Linked DNA regions of Homo sapiens: all the other regions are linked to region 1. Evidence: promoter capture Hi-C in 16 types of primary human blood cells and fetal thymus (Javierre and others, 2016). All regions are on one chromosome and are shown on one strand. The core of a region is centred on a gene start or on the middle of the fragment in contact, and the rest is flanking DNA. Distances in the headings are between cores, read along the strand shown.

Region 1 (3,319 bases), core at 333-2,832:
CACACCTGTTATCTCAGCACTTTGGGAGGCCACTAAGGCCGGAGGATCGTTTGTTGCCAGCAGTTCAAGACCAGCCGGGTCAGCATACCAAAATCTTGTCTCTCCAAAAATTTTAAAAATTGGCCAGGTATTGTAGGGGCACCTGTAGTCTGAGATACTTGGGAGGTTGAGGTGGGAGGATCGCTAGAGCCCAGGAATTTGAACGTGCGGTGAGCATGATCCAGCCACTGCACTCCAGCCTGGGTGACAGAGTGAGACTGTGAACAACAACAAAAAAATCAAGTTTCCTGGATCTATACAAAATTTTCAATTTAACAAATTTTTATAAAAATTTGTTTTAAAATAAACACCCCTCTAAATGGCAAAGCTAGAACAGAATCTGGTCACAATCTATAGGTTAGATATAGGATGACAGGGAGGAGCAAGAGCTGAACACATCAGCTGCAGCACCATCTACTTTGCCTGCGACTCCGTTAGCAGGCCCACTTTGCCCTTTTATAAATTATCTGATCAACAACTAAGAGATTAAAATTCGATCTATGTTTTACTCTATCTGAATCCTCAATATAATGAAGAACTTTATAATTGTTAATTTATGGATATAATTTAAGTTCATTAAACCATTATTTCCTTCCTATATCCTCTCATTCTTCCACAAAAACCTCTACCTTTGGGTGTTTACTTTTACAGACACCCACGCACACACCCCACACGCACGCACGCACATGCCTTATCTTTTAACTCAAGATTCTCATCTTCCTTTGGGGAGAAACAAACATCATGAGCCTTGAGGTCCATTTTCTGAGGGAAAGGGGGGGGCGGAGGCGGGATGAATAGGTTTTTACCCGGTATTTTTTATCATAAACGGGGAGGTACAAACCGCAAAGAAACACTAGTCGCTTGGTGGGCCACCACCTCTGGGGCTCACTGATCAATCGCACCCAAACTCATTTACTAATTTAAAAAAGTACTGTGGCAAGGCTCGTTTACGTAAGTCTTGGAGAGAAGCCGCCGCCACAATCTGCCGCAGTCTCGTGCGGAGTCACGGCCACCGAGCTCTTCACTTTCCCCAAGAGGCTCCCACGCCTTCCCCATCCCCAAGGGAGCTAGGCGGTCCCTCGCGGCTCTGAGTCCCTCGGGGAAGGCCGCGAAGAGAGGCCGCAGGCGCCCTGGCGAGAAGGGAGGGCGGGGGCAGCGGGCGGCGGGCAGCACCCGGGCTCCAGTTCATGACCCCGTTATTCCACAGAAAAATGGAACATTCCGCTCTTTCCGCCCACAGAGGGGAGGTGGGGGGAACCCTTCGATCTAGTCTGGGAGAGGCGACGCGGACGCAGCCACCGGAATCCGGGACGCGAAGAGCCGCGTTACGGGAATCGCTACCCCTCGGAGTCCCGCCCCCTCGTCGACAGGCGGCCACTGGACCAATGCCTGGGCGCAAAGGGTCTCTCAGGGGCCAATCAGCGCCTAGGTCCCGGTAGGGGGCGGGGCGCAGCGTTGGCCGGCCGGGGGCGCAGCTGGGCGGGATTGGGGAGCGCCCCGCCCCGCCGCGGGACTGGGGTGGCGCGCTACCTCTGCGGAGAAGGATCTGACAGTGTTCCGGAGCCGGGGCGAGCAGCCAAAAGGCCCGCGGAGTCGCGCTGGGCCGCCCCGGCGCAGCTGAACCGGGGGCCGCGCCTGCCAGGCCGACGGGTCTGGCCCAGCCTGGCGCCAAGGGGTTCGTGCGCTGTGGAGACGCGGAGGGTCGAGGCGGCGCGGCCTGAGGTGAGGAGGGGCCGGGTGCTGGGTCGCGTAGCTGGAGTTAGAGTGTCGGTGGTTTCGGACGGGCTATCTGGCACTCGAGGAGACCTCCCTTCCCCCTGAGAGCAGCGCCCGGAACTTGTCAGCCCAGCCTGGAAATCCCCACATTCCTTCCCCTTCCTGCTCCCGGACCTCCGAATTCTACTTCCACAACTTTGTCACCTCGATTATCGCAGCCCTGAGTACAAACTTCACCCAGGCGCACGCACGCACCCCTCTTAACGCCCGCCCCGCAGAACGCCCTTCAAGAACAAACCCCCCTTTTTGTTACCAGATCCCACGTTTTTCCCAATCCCCTTTTCATCTCCCCTGAAATTCTATTCGCTCCGCACTTGTCTTCATTCTCGAGGTGGATTTCCCTTCCCCAAAGCCGTTTTTTCATCTTGAAATCGTAACGTTTCAGCTTTGTTGAAAGTTCACAATGCTTATAAACACTATTAACGTTTCTTTCCTTCTTTTGATCTTTTCTATTAATAATTATCATTCCTAACGAATTCCACATCTCACTGTATCCCAAGGAGAACAAATCAGTTTTTAAAATTTTACCTCCTCCGACCTAAACTTTTGAAGATAGTGCAGGAAGCAAGGGTCTGTTCTTCAGTGGATGAACAGCATTTTATTTCATAATCCGAAACTGAAAAAAAAAAAAAATCACAGGTTAAAAATAAGACGTCACCTTTTTTTTTTTTTTTTTTTTTTGCCTTCAGAAGGAAACGCATTTTGGCTTAGTTTGTGAAGTATTTCAACAATTATACTGCCTTAAAATAACTAGTTATTAGAATGCCAGGGTGAATTTTCTGAAAGATTGTGGTATTTGCTTTTGACAGTGCTGTAAACAAACCCTTTAAACTGTGTATGACTGCCAGCTTCAAGTTGGAACAACTCTTAATTTGAAATTACGGACTCAGATCATCAGTTTAGCTGTGTGCCATTATGTTAATTTCTTAAATTCATGTTAATTCCTATTTGGAAGTATTTTTGAACTATGAACTGAAATATTACATTTATAGAACCAACTTGCTATTAAATTGTGCTTTCCAACTATTTCTCTTTAGGGATAATCTTGAACGTTTGTTTTTAATCTTGAGTGAAAGAAAAAAATTACAGGAAGGAGAAAGTGTCAAAAAGGACAGACTGTAGTGGGATTTTTTTCTTATTTTAAGTATGTATTGACAATACCAGTTTAATTTTCTCACAGGCAATTTAGATTATTATAAATACTGCTGCCACCTAATTTAATATAATATAGTCTTACGTAACTAAAAATGTTGTTCTCACTCTTATTTGTGAATTGCAGTATTTTCAATTTATTTAAATTTGTTTCCAAGGCTTTGCACTTCAGTTCAGTGTTAGGGCGAAAGTTAAATACATGTGAAGTAGGTGTTAAAATGTCCCCTTTATAGAGAAGGAAACAGGAGTCTCGCTGAAAACTAGATCTGTGTGACTCCAAATCCTGTGCTCTGAATCATTTTGTCATGTTGACACGTTTCTCATAAAAACCCCAGTGCCACAATTTGGTTTG
Region 2 (3,319 bases), core at 524-3,023, 880 kb before region 1:
ATGCTACATGAAAAAACAAGGTGTAGCAAAATAACTCTGGGAAACAATGCATTCTATCCTTTGATCCTTTAGGTTCACAATGTACATTAGCTTACTGAAGGATCCTAGAAGCCTTTCAGTCAACAGACCTAGTTATCCTTGTGTAATCCAGTGTTCACCAATCTTAACTGAATACGGGATTCTTTCTTCAGGGAACTTTTCACAACCCTGCCAAACTTCCACAGAATATGCTTTAGGAATGTCAAAGAAACAGAAACCTCTAAAGGTTTCTAAATGATTTGGGGGATAATCCAAGTTGTGTTTAAGAAATAATGATAACTATTATATAATATTAAATGTTCTTACAATGTGCCAGGCATATGGTTGAAAGTTTCTACATAATCTAATTTCAAACCTAAAAGGTATTTTCATTATTTTATGGGTGAGAAAACTGAAGTTTATTTAAGAGAGGTTAAGTAACCTTCATAAAGCCATCGTGCTAGTAAAAGGGAGAACCAGAATTTGAATCCAGGTCTGTCTCTATGATCTTGATCATGTGTTCAGATTGCCTAGGCTAGTCCAACTTTAACCAGCACATTATGCAAGCATTGTGGTTGGAATGATAAATTATGAGATCACTCAATTGTGACTCCAAACCCATGTTCGTAACTGTCATGCTGTATTACCTGTCAAGAAGATTCATTAGGCCCAATCGGTAGAGGATGCATTAGAAAAAGACTGAGGGAGGAAGCCTACAGACTGCTCATGAATTTTAAGAACAGACTAGATAAGAATTAAAGTAGTGATTCTGAATTGGGGGCAGTTTTGACCACTGGAGACATTTGGCAATGCCTGGAGACATTCTTGGTTGTCATAACTGGGGGCATGATCGGGTGGGGGTGGGTTTGCTCCTGGTATCTAATGGGTAGAGGCCAGAGATGCTGCCACAGTACACACATGACAACATCCCTGGCCCTCCCCCCACCCTCCAACAAATAATTATCTAACAAATGTTAATAGTACTGAGGCTGAGAAGCCCTAAAGAGACATATACGCAGAATGGAGAAAGTCCAGTTAGTCTCCTAAATTACCTCCTTGTCACTCTATTCCACCCATGAAAGAACTTTTAACAGGTTAAACTGGAAAACAACTCAATGATCTATGTCATGGAACCCTTTTCTTTGAAAAGGCTTTTGAATCTCCACATGACAATGTTTATTAAAAATCAATCAAAATGTTTATTAAAAACATATCTTCCTTAATATCTGATAAATTTTTTAAAAAATCAGAATAACGTTGATGACTCTGCCATCCCAAAAAGCATTTTTAATTTGGTCATGTATAAGGTATCTGCTCAGAAAAATGTACAGATATGAACAGCAAGACATTAAAAAAATCTTTAAAAATTAGCAAGCTTGTCTAGCTCACCCTATTTGTTGTTGTTCTGTTTTGTTTTGTTTTGTTTTAGGCTTTAGCAGCCTGAAGCCATGGTTTTTAGTCTGTCTCTAGTGGTAAGTGGAAAAGGAGGATGAGGAAGGAGCTTTACTGGCCCAAACAGAAACTAAGAAACCATGACTATATTCTCTCCCTTGGATACCCCTGCAAAGCCTTTAAAACAATGAAACTAAAAAGTAAAACAGTTATATAAGAAACCTTGGACATCATAAAAATCAGTAAAATTCAAATAAACAAAACAAAAGCTGTAATTTCCTGGAATTATGGAATAAAAATAAAATTTGGATTTTCCAAAATTAGGTAAAGTAGCTTTATTGTATCTTAAAAACACTATCTACGAACCATCAAAAAACCCCAAACCCATAATGATATGATTATGGAATAAAGCTACTTACTAAAGCAGCAACGTACACTTTGTAGACAGGGTCAGCACAGACCATTGACAGAACGCTGCAGCATGCCTCCACCACATCTCCTGAGATACTGGTCTGGGAAGACCCACTGGTGGCTCCCCCACTCGGGCTGCTTCCACTGCTGCCCCCAGAATTTCCAGTGCTCTCCCCATTTGCCAACAGCAGGGCCCCACTGACATCATGGGAAAGACGCCTGAGGGCCATCTCTCTCACATTCCAGTTTCTAGAAAATAAGCAGCCAACGAGTTCCATTCCAAACACCTGTATCAAACACACACGATGAATTCAATGTAAAGAAAAGCTTATGGACCCAGAGCATTTTGAGTTTAGCATCATTTTTGATTACTACGTAAAAACTGGACATTTCTGAAATCTTTACCATCCTTCACAACTTCAAATATATCCAGCCACTTAAGCATCATAAGGAAGAATTTTATACTCAAGTTTAACTGATAATTATCCAAAGTCATTAATATTTATTAGCTCAGGTAAAATTAATAATAAGCTCCATTAAGTCACTAGATGGCTATACATACATTCTATGCCTCTACTGTCCCACATGCTTACCAAAACGCCAAAAAACTGTGAAAACCTCAACTCTGTATTCATATTAAGGTAGTTTAAAGAGAAAAACTGGAGCAAGATTAAGAAAACAAACAAACAAACAAAAAACAAATCAAAAAAAGCACCAGGAGAAGGTTTCAAGAGATATAGAGTATTTCTCTTACAGACAAGAGCAATAAGCAAAACACATTTAATTGGTTTTTGTCTGTATAAAAAGGTTTAAAAAACTAGACAAAACAGGTAGGACTGTAAAACGAATGGAGTGGACAAATCAAACAACTGAAGAAAAAATGCTTGTGTTCGAGTAAGCAAAGGATAAATGTAGACGTAGAATTATAGTATATGCTGTTATCGTCGTCAATACCATGCCCCAAAAGCCAGAGTCCCTACAGTGAGGAAAGGGTGAATGGTCTTGACATTATGGGCCAATTAGCTAAAAGTAAGCTTAATACCTAAGATAATTCATTATGTGAAAAATGCCTAAATATTAAAGATGAATAAACACAACTTTTGAAAAACAGATCATAACATACTTATTTACATATGTTTTGTTATAAAGGGATATTATGGGAGAATGAACCAACTAGAATATAGTGAGCTTCTGGTACTGTTAAGTAGTGTACCACTACCTATGTTTTAACTGTCTTACCTAACATGCTTAATAAAAAGCTAGGAATGTAGAGCCTAGTCTGACCTAAAGCTTAGGCAAAACAAACTAGACCATATGCTTGAAAGAATGAACTCTAACAGCTCAGAATCAACTTGAGAGTTCTTTGATGGGTCATGAAAGGGCAGGTGAGGGCCTATGTTCATTAATAGTTCATTAAATTTCATTAATGAACTAGGTACAAGAATGTGTTTAATATTTTTGCAGATTTTATTAGATTCATAAATGGGTTGCTAATATG
Region 3 (3,319 bases), core at 203-2,702, 860 kb before region 1:
GTAGAAATGGTATTATTTGTTATTATATACCCTAACTCATTTAACACTCAAAAGCAACAATCAAAGGTGATTAAACAAATGTGAAAAATAAGCACTCATAACTTCTACAGTCAACTTATTCAACTACTAGATCAAAGATCTAGGTACGTTTTTATTTGTTTTTACAAAATGTAGGACCTTGAAACAACACTGGGCATAATTTCAAATAGTTTGATCACTATGCAATCATTTTCCCTGCTTTGTGTGTGTGTTTCTTTACAATGTTATATTACAATAATAGGTTAGATGTGTATCTCAGAAAACCAAAAGAGACTAGAAGTTTAAAGATCAATTTCTCAAGCAGAAATGCAGTTTACAAGACCTGCCTTTTTTTTTTTTTTTTTTTAATTAAGGCTTTCAGACCTAATCTAGCCATGACCAAAGGCCAAACTCCACAGCTTTGTACAACTGAAGCTCAGCAGACCTTTCTGGACTTTCTCCCACTGCTCCTGTTCTATAGCCAGTTGCTGTGTTCACCAAACTTGCCTGACCCTTCCTCCTCCTGTGCTTTCACTCACTCTCCTCCTATTTTAATACTCATCTCCAGCCTGCAGCACCCCAGGCAGTACACCTTCACATGAGGAAAATTTACCCATCTTTCTACGCTGAGTTAAAATTCTTCCTTTTATGAAACTTCCCTGAAGTCTACCAGCAAGACATTCCTTCTCTTTCCTAAGTCCCTATTGCTCTTCTGCCCATCCCACACATTTGGCACCTAGTCACAAGTTGCTTTGTGATATTTCATGTATTACTCTATTTATTATGTATAAGTCTAATTTTCCCATTTGGAGATATTTACCCTTTATGTTTCAAGAATGATTTGACACAACTTACTTAAAGTATAAAAACAAACAAAATCAGACCTCCCAAGTAAACAGTAAACTTCCTAAGGATAATACGAAATCCGTAAATCATAAAATGTAGGGTGGCATAATTAAGCTTAAGGACTATGTGTTATGCATCTTATTCCACACATCTCCTCCCTCTTCACTCATGTCTTATATACAGACAAGGTACTTTGGTACTTGCTAGAAAGTGAACAGTATAAAAACCAAAATTTTGTTTTAGAGAACTGGATATTCTTAGTTCATGTATAATAAAGAACAAATAGCTGGCTCATTTTTAAAAAGTTGTGATTTATGCCCTACGGTATTCTCAAAAGATTTAGGCTGTTTGAACACCTCCATCTAAAGGAGCTCAGAAAGCAGCACATTCAAACTTCAGATGGCTCTGCTTGTTCAAAAGTTCTTTATATTGATTGAGTAGTAATATGCCCTTTTAACTGCCAACATTCTACAAGATGTTTCAATAGCACTTTCTCTTCTCTAAGATAAATCCTTAATTTCTTCATATTCACCTTCTGGCACGAATAGCTAAAATGGTGAGGGGTTCCCACCATACCACCTCACGTGAGTAATAAATGGAAGAAATGTAGAAACTTAGCTGTAAAGACAAGGACTCACGGGCCCATAATAACTTACCAAGTGCTGGTATGGAAAGGAACAATTAGATTTATTCTGTATAATTCCATCGGTTAGAATGAGAACCAGTGGGTAAAATATTCCTGACAGACTGCAGCTCAGTGATGAGGATATCGAAAGCCACAGGGATTATTGAGTTATTTAAGTCAGACACGAGTCAGTACTACACATCTAAGAGAGCTTTCTGAGGCAGTGAAAATGTGCTAAAACTGCACTGCCTAAAAGGTAGCCATTGGCCACATGTGGTTACTGAGCATTTGAAATGTAGTTGGTGAGACTGAGGAACTAAATTTTTACTTTTATTTACATCTAATTAATTTAAATGTAAACTTAAATAGGCATATGGGATGAATGTAGGGCAGACAATCACTTGGCAGGGGTGTATTTAGACCCTTGTCAAAGCTTAGATGAATTTTAAGTTGCCATATCTGTTTTAAAAGAACAAAATAAAAACTTGCTGAGAGAGATTAGTGCTAGGATACTGTAATACTTCTTCCTTTGTAAGAATGAAGACACACATTTCATGATGGTATTCTTATAAGAATATATATTCTTATACCTATAGCAAAGGACAGAGTATCCCTGCTTTTTAAAATCTAGGACTCTAGATTTTCTTTCATCAAACCCCACACATTTTTAATTTATCTTAATCCCCATAGGTCTATTAAACATTTTTTCATGTCAAATGAGGATAACATGCTGACACTGTAACAAAGTTGGAGAAACGCACATCTTATGCATGCATGTGAAAACCCAATCATTACACTTATGAATTACTGCAATTAAATGTTTTCTTTCCTAGAAGATTTCTGAAATTAAGATCCTTGGATCCTGTCTTAGAGATAAAACATCTAAAATAAACTGGAAAAATTCTTTTTAAAATTTACAAGTACAGTATAAAACTCCAATGAAAGGATTTTAGATACTGACATGAGAGGGCAGTCTTGGTTTAAGCATTTACCCCTCCACCAAACACAACAGTTAAGTTCCCAGAATAGTTTAAGTTGTTTAATGAGCACAGTTTTAATTATGGTTTCTTCCAAATGACCACAATATCAAGTAAAGAAAACTACTACATTTAAAATGAAGAAGAAAAGCTTACAAGAGGATCTATTTATGCTTACTTTTCCATTTCCTCCTATGCTTTCTTCCTTATAACTGGTAACCCATAGCCACTTACCACAGGCCCTCGCCTATTTCTCCTTTCCAACCATTCGTGCTTCCAGGCTGGCATACAGGTTGCCTTCAGTTTCTCCCTGATCATTCGTTCCTCTGGACGATCATCCATCTTGTGCAACCCTTTGAGAGTTTCTTTATTCTCCATCTCACGACTAAAATGCAGGCAGAAACAAATAAAATGAGAAATGTATATATGAAAAATAATTTCCAAGAACAAACAGAATGGATGGTTCTATTTTATACTTCCAACGGACATGTAATAAAAAAGATAACTGCTAAAAACCCCAAATGACTTAAAGCTTGAAAAGATTCTGAATTATATACTACTGACATATATCATGCAGACCTATGTTCCACTGTAGTTAACAAAATGAATCCCAAGACATTAAGCACTATATTAACAAATATATTCACTAAGACTGCATTGTTTTTAATTCTACCACCCAAATAACAAATATTTAGAAGGGTGTATTACTACACTTTTATCCCAGGATTTCCAATAAATTAAGTCAATACAGATAGAATCTGGTGGATATGCTGATTTATCTGAAATAAGCTCAATAAATATTTAATAAGTGAAGTGAAACTTAACTACATCATCTATGACCCCAAAACAATTT

Evidence for each region. The method cuts DNA at HindIII sites, captures the fragments that hold promoters and counts their contacts. A CHiCAGO score of 5 or more calls a contact.
Region 2: a contact is called between a fragment that was not itself captured here and the fragment with the promoter of IL6ST in region 1, in 3 of 17 cell types (naive CD4 T cells, total B cells and monocytes). The highest score is 6.7, in naive CD4 T cells.
Region 3: a contact is called between a fragment that was not itself captured here and the fragment with the promoter of IL6ST in region 1, in 7 of 17 cell types (monocytes, M1 macrophages, naive CD4 T cells and 4 more). The highest score is 8.5, in monocytes.

What each region holds. Positions count from the first base shown.
Region 1 is chr5:55,993,226-55,996,544 of GRCh38, reverse strand. It overlaps IL6ST (interleukin 6 cytokine family signal transducer), which reads left to right and starts at 1,582. Exons shown (of 17, transcript NM_002184.4): 1 at 1,582-1,761. It overlaps IL6ST-DT (IL6ST divergent transcript), which reads right to left and starts at 1,378. Exons shown (of 2, transcript NR_102755.1): 1 at 991-1,378. RefSeq lists an enhancer at 1,029-1,540, cis regulatory regions at 1,129-1,802, 496-2,814 and a silencer at 1,372-1,851. The HindIII fragment of the contact is 8,053 bases long and covers 1-3,319 here.
Region 2 is chr5:56,873,821-56,877,139 of GRCh38, reverse strand. It overlaps MAP3K1 (mitogen-activated protein kinase kinase kinase 1), which reads right to left. Exons shown (of 20, transcript NM_005921.2): 10 at 1,830-2,108. Among named protein-coding and RNA genes, the nearest start is that of SETD9, 34 kb to the left of the region's middle. The HindIII fragment of the contact is 755 bases long and covers 1,396-2,150 here.
Region 3 is chr5:56,856,132-56,859,450 of GRCh38, reverse strand. It overlaps MAP3K1 (mitogen-activated protein kinase kinase kinase 1), which reads right to left. Exons shown (of 20, transcript NM_005921.2): 2 at 2,701-2,851. It also overlaps the pseudogene LOC124901214. Among named protein-coding and RNA genes, the nearest start is that of MAP3K1, 42 kb to the right of the region's middle. The HindIII fragment of the contact is 944 bases long and covers 981-1,924 here.